5 separate regions of the Homo sapiens genome follow, and all the other regions are linked to region 5. Evidence: promoter capture Hi-C in 16 types of primary human blood cells and fetal thymus (Javierre and others, 2016). All regions are on one chromosome and are shown on one strand. Each heading gives the region's core, a stretch centred on a gene start or on the middle of the fragment in contact. The rest is flanking DNA. Distances are from core to core; before and after follow the strand shown. Region 1 overlaps WDR26 (WD repeat domain 26). Region 2 overlaps CNIH4 (cornichon family member 4). Region 3 overlaps TLR5 (toll like receptor 5). Region 4 has its middle 66 kb from the start of WDR26. Region 5 holds the start of TP53BP2 (tumor protein p53 binding protein 2).

Evidence for each region. The method cuts DNA at HindIII sites, captures the fragments that hold promoters and counts their contacts. A CHiCAGO score of 5 or more calls a contact.
Region 1: a fragment that was not itself captured here is called in contact with the fragment with the promoter of TP53BP2 in region 5 in 3 of 17 cell types (monocytes, activated CD4 T cells and total CD8 T cells); the score reaches 6.3 in monocytes.
Region 2: a contact is called between a fragment that was not itself captured here and the fragment with the promoter of TP53BP2 in region 5, in 1 of 17 cell types (naive B cells). The highest score is 6.8, in naive B cells.
Region 3: a contact is called between a fragment that was not itself captured here and the fragment with the promoter of TP53BP2 in region 5, in 1 of 17 cell types (fetal thymus). The highest score is 8.1, in fetal thymus.
Region 4: a fragment that was not itself captured here is called in contact with the fragment with the promoter of TP53BP2 in region 5 in 1 of 17 cell types (erythroblasts); the score reaches 5.1 in erythroblasts.

What each region holds. Positions count from the first base shown.
Region 1 is chr1:224,385,997-224,388,696 of GRCh38, reverse strand. It overlaps WDR26 (WD repeat domain 26), which reads left to right. Exons shown (of 14, transcript NM_001379403.1): 14 at 1-2,700. Among named protein-coding and RNA genes, the nearest start is that of MIR4742, 11 kb to the left of the region's middle. The HindIII fragment of the contact is 982 bases long and covers 827-1,808 here.
Region 2 is chr1:224,369,543-224,372,242 of GRCh38, reverse strand. CNIH4 (cornichon family member 4) reads right to left here. Exons shown (of 5, transcript NM_014184.4): 4 at 820-960. Among named protein-coding and RNA genes, the nearest start is that of CNIH4, 14 kb to the right of the region's middle. The HindIII fragment of the contact is 948 bases long and covers 863-1,810 here.
Region 3 is chr1:223,133,342-223,136,041 of GRCh38, reverse strand. It overlaps TLR5 (toll like receptor 5), which reads left to right. Exons shown (of 6, transcript NM_003268.6): 4 at 1,178-1,360. Among named protein-coding and RNA genes, the nearest start is that of TLR5, 8.6 kb to the left of the region's middle. The HindIII fragment of the contact is 696 bases long and covers 953-1,648 here.
Region 4 is chr1:224,499,636-224,502,335 of GRCh38, reverse strand. It overlaps a transcript of CNIH3 not described here. Among named protein-coding and RNA genes, the nearest start is that of WDR26, 66 kb to the right of the region's middle. RefSeq lists enhancers at 1,093-1,593, 1,594-2,094. The HindIII fragment of the contact is 3,572 bases long and covers 1-2,700 here.
Region 5 is chr1:223,844,573-223,847,272 of GRCh38, reverse strand. TP53BP2 (tumor protein p53 binding protein 2) reads left to right here and starts at 1,326. Exons shown (of 18, transcript NM_001031685.3): 1 at 1,326-1,619. The coding sequence starts at 1,593. RefSeq lists a silencer at 1,189-1,498. The HindIII fragment of the contact is 2,144 bases long and covers 343-2,486 here.

The sequences.
Region 1 (2,700 bases), core at 68-2,567, 540 kb before region 5:
ACTGGGATTAAAACCTCATAGTCATTTTTCTTAATTGCCCTTAATATTTTGACATATAGGGATACATAAATTTAAAGAATATTTTTTCTCAGTTTTTTCAGATATTGCCATACTGAACCTCATTCTAAACTGGTGCTGTGGATAGTCTTTCCCTCTCCCCTCCTGTTTTAGTTTAAGGAAAGGTTTCCTTCATGGAAAAGCACTTTTAATTTTGAGAATTTCACATTTAAAATAAGCCAAAAGCCTGATGTTCACATTGTGCTTTTAAACTCCGTAACAGCTGAATACAACATAACATAGTCTCCCTTGAAATTCCCTCCCTTTTTCAGTAGAGGATAAATAGGGTGACTCCAGCTGTTGGAATGAGAATGGGGATACCCCCAAAATAAGATTCTGGTGAAGAAAAAGTCTTGTACTAAGTTCCCCTTTAGGTGTAGCCAAGTCTATAATATAATTATGATCATGAATAGACTCCAGAATCCACAAAGAGAAGAGGGCTTGGATGTCAAAAATTCTTCCATTGTGGGGTAGGTGGTCGGGGATGGGAGAAAGGGAAAAGTCAGGGAAGGGGAGAAGAAAGAAAAACACATTTGGCCTTAAAATAGCATGCATTCTCCCAGAAGCCCATAGTAAAGAAAATGACAGATCGTGGTCAGCAGACTCTTATCAAATTGGTATGTAAAAGATTTCTTCAAGCTCCATTTTGCAGAGACCACCACTTAGAGAATCAAAAAATTCCTGTTTTGATACTTCTAAGTTAAAATATATGTTACAGTTTATCTGGTACTTCATTTTTCTTAACTAAAATTACTTTTTACTTTAAGCTTGAATAAAAATCTTCATTGGTAACTGTATGTAATTAAGTGGCAACTTCTCTTTACCTCAGTATAGTTAAAAACCATTCATATTTTAAGTGATTCATGTATACCCTGAAGCCGTTAATACACCCCAGTCTCTATGGTAACATCACTAAATGTGGGCATAGAAACTCCACAGCTGTTTACAAATTTGGTTACAGTGTGCTACGGTGCATTTGTAACACTCAGATTTGTGCCCATTCAGGGGCAATTTGGCACTCAGATTCTACTCTACTTCACCTAACCACCCCTAGATCTGAGTTTTCAGAGTGCTTCTGAAGTACAGTTTAAAAACACTTTTTAAAAAGTGGAGTAAAAGTGAGGCACATTTTACAAGAACATAACTCCTATTAAAACGGAGTAACAACTATGCAAAGGTTTCTATAGCAGCTAGGTGAGTTTGTTTTCCGGGTCTGTCTTAACTGGCAGCTTCCTGTACATACTGGTACTTATTTGCTGTAAACGTCTGTTTCATACATTTGCCATGCAGTGACTGTGCTCGAAAGGTGAAATCAATGGTAAAGAAGCCTAGGATTTTATGGTATGAGAAACTGATCGCAGGATTTTCTGATCCATAGCTATTAATTGAAAACTTCTGATAGTGCTGTAGGCTCTATAGTAGGCTTAAGAGTGAGTCTTATACTATGAAGCCAGCCACAAGATACTAACAAATGTATAAATTGAAAAGTACCAATACTTTTTGCACATAGATCAAAATAGAGTGGAGAATTTGGGCTCCAAAAATCAGGTTAGTAGGCTCATTTCCATGTGCTTAAAAATGTTTTTGTTGTTATGCATTGATTAAGGGCTAGAGCAAATATAAAATTAAATGTCTTTTTCCTCCAAATAATTGGTTATTAATGGTAAAATGTTGGACTTGGGGATTACTGAGATTAGTATGTGGGTAGTAAAGAATTGGAGTGGGAGTTAGTGGGGAGGGATGACAAAGCTTCAGCTTTGGTTTTTGTATTTTTTTAGTCTTCATAACAGCTACATTTCTGTTGCTCTTATTGGCCAGATAAATGTGTTATATTAAACCAGGTAAGTATTTTAAACAGAGAACATTTTATTTGCATATATCCCTACAAATTGGCCCATTTTATTGGGTGGGGGGATAAAAAAGGGATTCCCTAACTTTAAATAATCAGAATATCCTGCAATTGAAAGGAGAAAAAAATCCAATTTTGTCAGTATTTTCTTAGTCTGAAAAAAACAGCAGTAGTAATCTGGTGAATGTTATTATTAGGAGTGTTCTGCCTCTACAGTGGCATATTCCATGACATTAATAGAAAACCCTTCTTTCCCACCCCTCCCCATCTTGACATTTTCTTTTTTAGGATGTTGGTTCCTGCAAACAAGAACTGACCCTATCACCTCTGCCTCACAGTGGGTAAATATATCATACATCTCTTGAAAGGGAAAATATCCATGTCAGTTTCTTTCACAGTAGAAGAATGGCTGCTTTTGAATGGGGAGGAAAGAAGACATTTTTCTTAATATCCTTTTTGTCCCATCTCTAAAATGTATAAATATTTTGATTTGGTTTTACTTTAATTTCTCATTCATAATTTCGCAACTGTCCTTTTGGGTTGCCCTCCAACACATTACTTCCATTTCAGAAACCATATCTGATTTAATATAAACTGCTAACTTAAGAAGAGGTGAATTTGCATTTACACTTAGACACTTTCTAAAAACAGGGTGAACTTAATTGAAATTTTTCAGTGTTGTTAAGCTATTGTTATAGTAGCTGCCCTATAGTTACAAAAATAAAAACTATAAAAACCCATCCCCTATCTACTTAATCCAGATAGCCTGGATTTAACAAAACCAATAGTATAAA
Region 2 (2,700 bases), core at 87-2,586, 520 kb before region 5:
CTTCCAATGTCTGACAGCCAATCTATCATATTAATTCTTACTTCCAGTGTGTTATAACTAGAAGACTGATACAACTTTACCATAATAGACATTTAGCATGCTGGAGAATGAGCATCACACCTAAATTACTTATTGCCAAGAAAGATCAGCACAATTTGGATAAAAGTTGCTGAGAGCTGCTGCTAGTGGTGTGATCCCCCAAAGACCATGAGTGGGATGGTCGCTGAGGCACATATATTAATGCTTATAACAGGCAGTGGAACTCCACAGCTGTATACTACTAGGGAAGGAAAAAAATATGAAACAGAGTTTCACTATTGTTGCCCAGGATGGAGTGCAATGGCGCGATCCTGGCTCACCACAACCTCTGCTTCCCAGGTTCAAGTGATTCTCCTGCCTCAGCCTCCCAAGTAGCTGGGATTACAGGCATGTGCCACCACGCCCACCTAATTTTGTATTTTTAGTAGAGTCGGTGTTTCTCCATGTTGGTCAGGCTGGTCTCGAACTCCCGACCTCAGGTGATCTGCCCTCCTCGGCCTCCCAAAGTGCTGGGATTACAGGCGTAAGTCACCGTGCCCTGTTTTAAGCATGTGGATAGCCTCAAAGCTAAGGCATAACTAAGATGCAACAGGGTAGATCTACTGTAGTTCAGACAGAAAGCTGATTCAATGACATACATAAATAATCTACACAGCCACAAGGAATTTACATAATCCCCGAAAGTTCCACAATGTCAATGCAAAATCCTATAGTATAGTAATATCTCACCCTTCAAAAACAAATATGGCATCTAGGAAAATACCAGGACTTTAAACTCACCTATAAAGATACATGAAGAAGCAGAGCAAGTGGAAACCAAGCTTGATCATGGCTTCTTTCATGTGTGACTTCAGCTGCCCTCGATTGTGTATTTCTGTTGGATCAAACACTCCCATGTTACCACTCGGCACCATAATGTATCTGATAAATTAAAGGATACACACATTAGAAGGATAATCAAATCATAGGCATAAGTATTCAAATATAAGTAGCCAATAATAATCGACTTTTAAAAGTGAACCAATCAGGCCCAGTACTGTGGCTCATGCCGGTAATCCCAGCACTTTGGCAGGCCAAGGCAGGTGGATCACCTGAGGTCAGGAGTTCAAGACCAGCTTGACCAACATGGTGAAACCCTGTCTCTACTAAAAATACAAAAATTAGCTGGGCATGGTGGCAGGCAACTGGAATTCCAGCTACTCGAGAAGCTGAGGCAGGATAATCACCTGAACCCGGAAGGCAGAGGTTGCAGTGAACCAAGATCGTGCCATTGAGCCCCAGCCTGGGTGACAGAGCAGAACTCCATCTCAAAAAAAAAAAAAAAAAAAGTGAGCCAATCATAGCAGCCTTAAATTCATACCACATATGTACAGAGTAGTATGATAATGTCATGGGCTGCCACTTAGTTTCCTTTTGAAAGTTATAATACTGTTAATCTTCTGCCCTGTAAAATAAATACAGTAACATTCCAGAAAAGGATATTTTATGCACTGAAACCCTTTTACTCATCTGTAGAAAACTACCATACCAGTCACATCTACAGCCCTTTTCCATTAGACAAAGGTTAAAGAAGGCTTCAAACCCAAACCAATTTTATTAAGTTCTTAGAAACTTCATTATGGAAACAGGGAAATTAAGGAAGTTAGGTTACTTTGAGAGGATCAATGAATTTAAGTGTCTGGGCTTCAACATCCAGACTGTGTCATCTGTGTAACATATATGTCCTAACCTAGCACTGTCCATGAATTCTTCCTGCTCTCACGTCTAAGCTTCTTCTAGTACAACCTTAGTTGTCACACAGCTTCTCAATTATCACTTCTTTGAAATGCAAAGGACTCTCTGAGTTCCACAAATCTGAAATTCTCCCTTAAAACCCCAGTAGCCCGACTATAGCTGAATAGAGGGTATTTTCATTTGAATATCCAGATAACATCTCATCCTTGTCTAATTTCTAGGTTATCTAATAAGAGTGTCACCATTTTCTTGGTGGTCCTTAAAAACTTCCTCTTACCCAACTGGGACTTCTCTCTTCCTCATCTTTCATAGCCAGTCCATCAAACCCTTGTCCAGTCTTTCTTCCTACCACCACTTACTTAGCTGTCTTTTTTTTCCTTTTTGTATTTTTGTTTTATTTTTAATTTTTGTGGGTACACAGTAGGTATATATATTTATGGGTTATATGAGAGATTTTGATACAGGCATGCAATGTGTACTAATCCCATCAGGGTAAGGCTGGGCACAGTGGCTCACACCTGTAATCCCAGCACTCCAGGAGGCCGAGGCGGGAGGATTGCCTGAGGTTGAGTTCAAGACCAACCTGACCAACATGGAGAAATCCCATTGCTACTAAAAATACAAAATTAGCCAGGCGTGGTGGCGCATGCCTGTAATCCCACCTACTCAGGAGGCTGAGGCAGGAGAATCGCTTGGACCCGGGAGACGGAGGTTGCAATGAGCCAAGATTGCGGTATCACACTCCAGCCTGGGCAACAAGAGCAAACCTCCGTCTCAAAAAAAAAAAAAAAAAATCACATCAGGGTAAACGGGGTATCCATTACCTCAAGCATTTATCCTTTGTGTTACAAACGATCCAGTTATACTTTTTTAGTTTATTATTATTATTATTTTTAGACGTAATCTCGCTCTGTTGCCCAGGCTGGA
Region 3 (2,700 bases), core at 51-2,550, 710 kb after region 5:
AGAACTTGCAGGCTATTCCTGGTAGGGTTCTGACATATACCTGCCCTGGACCAATGACTAGGGAGCTGGCTACAGAGGTGGAGGTGAGCCTAGGAAAGCAGAAATACAAGGAGAGGGGGAAAAAAAAGTCAAATCTCAAAATATCTAGCCGCAGACATAAGCTCCTCTGAGGGTAATTTCTTGAGGGGGGAAAAAGTTGCTATTTAAAGCTAGGATATATGTGGTTCCATTTTTTTCATCGGTACATTAATAACATCATTTTCCACTATGTATCTTCAAGATCCGGTGTAACAGCCTTGCAAATTTGCCAGAATGAAGAAGGAATGTTCTGCTTCAGGGAGGATTGGCCCTGGTCTATGATTGCTGTCATGATGATACTCAGCAAGTTTCCTTAGATAACTTCAGAGTTAACAAGGATTTAAAAATGCTTCCATTTCAAACTCACCGTTATACATATGCAGAAACTGAGGACAATGAAAGTTAGAGTTGTCTAGGATACCCAGACTGTGGCTGAAGGAGGACTAGAACCGATATTTATCCTCTCCCAGCCCAGCATTTTTGCCATGGTCTCATGTATCTCGAAAGTAACCACCACTAGCAAGTTGGAGCCAAATCAACTAGCTGACTCCCTGCCCTGACTCAGAATGGAGCATAGCCACCCTGGGCAGCCTGCCCAGGCAGATTCCACATGCAGTAAACCTCCTTCGGGTCCCAGGACACTGGGCACAGGGTGGGGACCTGTGCTTCCAGCAGGGGTGCGCTCCCCAGCCTCACCTGTCCCTGCTTACAGTCCCTCAGGCAACACCAGTGAAATCATCTTCCTCTCAGGGCATCCTCATCCTGGCCTGAGTGCCCCCCACCTTTCCTTCTCAACCTCTTCAGGGCTTACCTTGCATCAGGGGGTGTCTCCAGCAGCTGCAGGGTGCATTGGATTTTATCTGCCTGGGAAGCTTTCTCTTGATTCCTTTGCTAGCCCAGCACAGACTACACATCCCTCTCAGAACAGTTCTCAAGTGTTTGATACTCTCTCTTCACATTCCCATTTCGTATCTAACTGATCAGGTTAATAGGGTTCCTAGTTGCCGGTCACCACCCCCACCCCAGCTGTTTCCAATTTACATCACACTCCAAATGATTTTTGCAGCGCTTAGCAGATTGTCTGTGTCATTACTTTCAGGGATGCTATACTGGACTTCCCTACTCTCATCTGCTCCAGCCCCCTGACCTTATAGTTGCCCAGCTTTCCTGGCAATTGACTTTGCCCATCAATACACAGGATTTAGCATCCAGGGAAGATGTCGGAGCCTCAGATGTTAATTTTCTAATTGAGAATGTTGGCGCTGTCCGAACCTGGAGACAGGTAGGGATGTTCACTTTCTGGGCGAGCCACCTTTTCCCGACGATTTTAAATGTTGTGCTAGTTGTTCGTTTTTAATAATCACTAAAAATTATTTCTTTCAATCAGATGCTTTAAAATTGTGTGCTAAAGAGTTATAATGTGCAAACAACGGGGAAGCCATTCTGTACCTAAACCATGTGTTTTCAACATAACTTTTCAGAGTATCAGCGCCTTTGCTTGCTGCTGTTTTTGCTGTTTTTTGATGCTGGGAACCACCACCTAAAGATAGTAAAGAAAACACAGGAAGCTTTCCGGTAACTCATGCTAAAGAAACACAAAATCACCCCAGTGCCTTGAGAAATTTCCTTTCCCTCTCTAACTTTCCCCTTCAGTGTTCTAAAGGGAAGGCGTTTCTGGTAAGGTGTAGTTGCGTAAATGATGGCTGCCTACTTCAGCAAGCAAGAACTGTTGGAGTATTAAGCATGGGTAACTGGATATTCTGGTTTGGGCACTGGAGGATCCCTGGAAGCCGGAAGCAGGCTGTTGCTGCCGGGGTAGGGGCGGCGGGGGTGGGAGGTAGAAACTTATTGCTGTGATTTTATAGGCAGTAAACTGATGCTTAGAGAGGTTCAGCACTCGCCCAAGCTCACACACCTACTAAACTGTGGAGCTAGGATTTGAATCCAGCTACAAATTTAGTTGTCATTGAAATGTCTAAATGCACTCTACTGCGCAAGCGATAGGAACTTCCCAGCGGAGCTCAGCTCAGGGACGCTTGCAGCTCCCCGCGCCCCGCTCGACTCTCCGGCCGCGGCTCCGCGGGCTCCTCCCCCTCGGTCCCTGCCCCTTTTGCGCCCTCTGCTGGTCTCTAGGGAAAGCGCATCTCCTGAAATCAGAAGTCGCACCCAAGCTGTCCCGTTTCCTTAGCTCCTAGTAAAGCGATATGACCCATCCATCCCCTCCTCCTCAAAGCCTCACATGAATCTTCTTTGAGGTACTCTCTGATGCTTCACTCTTCAGCGCTGAGAAAAATGGGGAGGAAGGGGAAGTGAATGTATTAGTATAGCCCCTTCTCAAAACCAATCGTGCAGCATCTTAGCCATGCCTTATCCTGGAAGAACGAGGCAGCTCACGTGGGCATGGGGGTAATGAGCAGGGAGGCAATTACAGACTCTTAGGTTCTCACCGCTAACAGTGTGGTCAGTGGACCAGCAGCAGCATCACGTGGGAGCCCGTTAGAAATGCAGACTCTCAGGTCCTTCAGCCACAGCCCTGATGAATCAGAATCACCGTTTCAAGGAGGTCTCAGGCGGGCCGTTTCAGGTTCCGAGCTCGCTTTGAGGCTCTGTGGATGTTTTGCA
Region 4 (2,700 bases), core at 87-2,586, 660 kb before region 5:
CTATCACGAGATACTTCTGCTGACCAGCTACGTTCACAGAGATCATTTCTGGCTGCAATCTCACTCACACCACTTATTTTATCCCAGTAGATGTTTGTTTCGGCCCCTAATTTCCATTCCCTTGGGCCAGTAAAGTGACTTGATTCCCTCTGTTTCTGAGGACCCCAAGAAAACCAGGGCTTCACTCTCCGGGAGCCGTATCTGCAGCACTCCTGGGTTCTGCCCACAAGTGGTATCCTCAGGGAAGACCCCTCTGGGCAAACCATTCTGAACAAGGCCCAGAGGATCCTCTGCTCACCTGCCCTCCCCACATTCTTCAGCACCTCCCTCCAGTTGCTCATGAAGCCTCCAGGTCCTCTGCCCCTCCACCCTACCTTCCTCCAGCCTCCTCACCACAGAATCATCTCCAACAGGGACCCCTCTTCCAGGAAAGTAGCTGGTCACAAACAAATTTCTGTATAAAGCAGTGGCTCACGCCTGTAATCCTAGCACTTTGGGAGGCCGAGGCAGGTGGATTGCCTGAGCTCAGGAGTTTGAGACCAGCCTGGGCAACACAGTAAAACCCCGTCTCTACTAAAATACAAAAAATTAGCTGGGCGTGGTGGCACGCACCTGTAATCCCAGCTACTCCAGAGGCTGAGACAGGAAAATCGCTTGAACCTGGGAGACGGAGGTTGTAGTGAGCCGAGATCGCGCCACTGCACTCCAGCCTGGGCGACAGAGCGAGATTCCATCTCCAAAAAAAAAAAAAATTCTGTATAAAACATTATCATGATTAAGAACATGAACTCTGGGGTTAAAAAAAAAAAATATATATATATATATATATAGGTTCAAGCCTATGCTGCTGTCTGCTGAGCATGTGACCTTGGGCAATTCGCTTATATCACTCTAAGCTCCAGGACCCTCATCTGTAAACTGGATACAATAATAATAGTATCTGCCTCATGGTGCTGTTGTCAAGATTAAATGAGATTAAATAAAATTATGAGAAGAATTCTTTACAAAGTGCCTTTCACCCAGTAAGCTCTCAATAATGATAGTATTATTGCCCATGACCATTTATTCAACACTCTTAAACCCCTACAATGAACAAAGTATGACTCCGCCTACCTCAAGTGTCTTTCTGTTCAATATAGGAGTCAAATATACAAACAAGTGGACATAAAACAAAGCAGAATTAGTAAATGCACATGAGATAGAAACATGATATGCTTTAGAGAGTAGAGAGATGAAAAAAAAGATTACTGTTTCCAGAACAGAAGAGGCACAGCAGCAGAGGTGGCCCACGAGCAAGGCTTTGAAGCATAAGCAGGGCTCTGATCAGTGGAAGCAGATGGTAGGTTCCAGGAAGTGGCAGAAGGGGAGGCATGGAGATGTGATGGTGCAGGGTGTGTGGAATGCACAGATGCCGGCTGCTTCCTCGGGTTCCAGCCCCCCTTCTTCCATCCTAGCAGCCTCATTGTCCACTTAGGCATCCACTGCATTGTGGGGAGTCTTGAGGTCAAGGGAAATCGTGCAGCAGGTAGCCACTCAGCACATCCCAGCCCACTGGCGACTGGGGTTGGTGCAGGGGCAGATGTACGTCAGAAACAAGTCTACTCAGATTAAAGATCAGTCATGAATGCTGGGGAAAAGTCATTCTTTTTTTTTTTTCTTTGCTTTTTTGTCTCACTCTGTCGCCCAGCAGGTTGGAGTGCAGTGGCACAATCTCGCCTCACTGCAACCTCCGCCCCCTGAGTTCAAGCCATCCTCCCTCCTCAGCCTCCCAAGCAGCTGGGACCACAGATGCATGCCACCAAGCCTGACTAAGTTTTTGTATTTTTGGTAGAGATAGAGTTTCGTCATGTTGGCCAGGCTGGTTTCCAACTCCTGAGTTCAAGCTATCTGCCTGCCTCGGCCTCCCAAAGTGCTGGGATTACAGGCATGAACTGTTGCACCAGCCAAGTCATTCTTTCTTTAGAGACATGAGATGAAGGCTGCTGGCAACCATTTTGGGACCATGAGAATTAGGAAGAAATTGTGGCCAGGCACAGTGGCTCAGTTTGTAATCACAGCACTTTGGGAGGCTGAGGTGGGAGGATGACTTGAGACCAGGAGTTCAAGAGACCAGTCTGAGCAACATAAGGAGACACTATCTCTATAAAAAAAAAAAATTGTTTTAATTAGTCAGGCTTGATGGTGCAGGCCTGTAGTCCCAGCTACTAAGGAGGCTGAGGTGGGAGGATCACTTGAGCCCAGGAGGTCAAGGCTACAGTGAGCCATGATTGTGCCACTACACTTCAGCCTAGGAGACACAGTAAGATCCTGTCTCAAAAAGAAAAAAGAAAAAAGAAAGAAAGGAATTAGATCCTTGGGGAATTGTTGAGCCTTACCCAAAGCCCCACTCTGACACTAGATTTCTTTTTCTTTTCTTTTTTCTTTTTTTTTTTTTGGTAGAGATAGGATGTCGCTATGTTGCCCAGGCTGGTCTTGAACTCCTGGCCTCAAGCGATCCTCCTGCCTCAGCCTCCCAAAGTGCTGGGATTACAGGTGTGAGCCACAGTGCCCAGTCAGCTGACTCTAGACTTCTTTTGTCCCAGAAGCAAATAACGGCGTGTATTGTATAAGGCAGTTGAGCTATGCTTTTCAGTTTCTTGATGTTCAAAAAATGACCCGAAATAGAGAGTTATAAAAAATTGAAACTAGAAAGGTATTAGA
Region 5 (2,700 bases), core at 77-2,576:
TGGCCAGGCTGGTCTCGAACTCCTGACCTCAGGTGATCTGCCCGCCTCGGCCTCCCAAAGTGCTGGGATTACAGGCGTGAGCCACTGCGCCCGGGCGAGAACGTTAAATTCTAGTTGAATTAACCGTAATTTAGTATTTCCAGATACAGTATCTGGGATGGTGCAATAGGGAGTTCGATGGAGATTCTGGTAAGGGATATGGTGGGCTAAGAAAGAATTGTCTGTTCTTGATACTAGATAAACCCAGGGGATTTACCCCACTTCAGGTTCTAGAATCATGTATAAAGGCAGAGAAAAGTGATTCTGAGTGAACTTGCACTGACAACTTACTAGAACAAAGCTTCCTGGAGTTAGGGTTCCCGCAGTATGTGTCTCTCTGGAAGGTGGAATAAAAGCCTGAACCCGCTCTGCTACTCTTTGGAAGGCAGCCCTGCCATTTCCCTAGGCCTTGGCCTCCCTCCCTGGAAAAGGATGGTATCCACCGGCTCCCCGTATCGGAGGCTGTTTGCAGGGTGTTCCCAGCACCCCCCAGGGAAGCTCCTCAGAATGCTGCCTGACACATTTTTACAAAATTTATTTTTATTGTGGTAAAACATACACAACATAAAAGTTATCCCTTTATCCAGTTTGCGGTGTACGTTTGTTAACCTTACAGCAAGTAACACATGAGTTTTAAATTAGAATTTGGACAACGGCAAATGAGATGAAAGGCGAACAATCCGAAAGCCGGATCACTGAGGAGCTCTGGGAACGCGCCGCGAGCTGAAGCCACACGGGGAACTCCATTTTGTCGGGACAGGGTCGGTCCTGGCCGCCTCCAGGGAGTCGGGTAGTTTCCGCGGCGTGGCCCGGGCCTCCCCTGAAGTCCGTCCGCCTCTCTCCGCCTGGCCCAGCGGCGCGGCCGCCGGAGGACTCTGTCCACGCGCCCAACGTCGGGCGCCCTGTTCTGAAGGCAAAGGGTCCCCTGCCTCGCACGACTCGGAGCCGCCGAGGAGGTGACGGCGGCAGCCCTGGGGCGGCTCGGTGCCATTCACTACCATCCTGTTTTCCTGAGGCGCGGCCTTCCAATTGCCCCGGCTCCGCTAGGAGGCGCGCGCTCCAGCCGCTCCGCCGCGCGGCCCCGACCGCACTTCAGTCCGGGGCGAAGAAAGAAAAGGCGGCCGGCTCCCGCCGCTCCCCGTCTACCCAGCCGGGCCCGCGCAGGCGCGCGCAGCTCCCGTTCCCGCGGCCGCCCCTCCCCCAGGCCGCCGGGCGCGCCGCGGGCGGGGTCGGCGCGGGGGGCGGAGCCGGCACGGGCTCGGCTGGGGCCCGACCCGGGATTAGTTGGTTTCGGAGCGGAGGAGGGAGCCCCGACCGTCACGAGCGTCGAAGAGACAAAGCCGCGTCAGGGGGCCCGGCCGGGGCGGGGGAGCCCGGGGCTTGTTGGTGCCCCAGCCCGCGCGGAGGGCCCTTCGGACCCGCGCGCCGCCGCTGCCGCCGCCGCCGCCTCGCAACAGGTCCGGGCGGCCTCGCTCTCCGCTCCCCTCCCCCGCATCCGCGACCCTCCGGGGCACCTCAGCTCGGCCGGGGCCGCAGTCTGGCCACCCGCTTCCATGCGGTTCGGGTCCAAGATGATGCCGGTAAGTGGGCGAGCGGCCAGGGCGTCGGGCCCGGAAGTGTGCGGGGTCGCGTGCCGGGGGCTGGTCCGCGCCCTCGGGCGCGTCGGGGAAGGAGCCTGGGGGCCGCAGCCCGCGCGGAGGGGCCGGGGCTTTCCGAGCTTCGAGCGGGTTTCAGGAAGGGGAGGCTCCATCCTCTGGGCTCTGCGCCCACAGCCGTCGTGGGGGCGCGGCGAGACCCTAACCTCGAGGCGGGTTCCTCCAGCTGCTCCGGAGTCAGGCGAGCCGCCCGCGAGCCCAGCAGCCACTCAAACTTTTCGTCTTTCACTGGGTCTTGACTTTTTTGCAGTTCTTGAAGGTCAAGAATACGGGAACCGGGGACCTTGTTCTTTGCTGTGTCTTTTTACTTTTTACTGGAGTGAAACATACGTTACTGGAACGGGTACCTTTGCTTTGTTTTTAATTGAATTTCGATCTTGATATCCACAGTAGCAGCTAAGTCACCCTTACCTCTTTGTGGAAAGGGGTTTTGGTAAATGCAATCTCGGAAGTTTTAGATTGCAGGAAAGCGTACGTGCCTGGCTCCCTTCGTTTCCCACAGCTTTTAGCAAGACCTCCGGAGAGGATTAGTGCCTTCTTTAGGAGCTCCGCAGGCTTTTGACACGGCCACCAGGCCACAGATGAACAGCAGGTTTGAGACATTTCAGAAATGTCTCTGTCATTCAGCGATCGCGGAATGGAGGTTTGCGGTGTGTTGCGGTGGCTTCTGCAGACTTCAGTAGCGAGTTTCTTCGTGGAAGTTGTATTTGCACCTCTCCCACTGAAGTGGGGACATCTTGCAGGCATCCTATGCTTGTGGCTCCATTTGTTCAGACAAAGAAACAAAAAGCTTTTACTTTTATGAAGTCTGTGGAATGGAGTGATGACAAAGTTTGCAGTCATACATACAGAGTATAATATGCTGTTCCCTGGCCCCCTGCTTGTGTCATGGAGGGCGTCCCAAACTCTCACTGGGTCGACTTAACAATTCACTAGAATTAGTAATTGGGTTTAGAGGGTTTGGGATATTTTGTCCTGCCAGGATTCAAGGAATTTGAAAGTATTA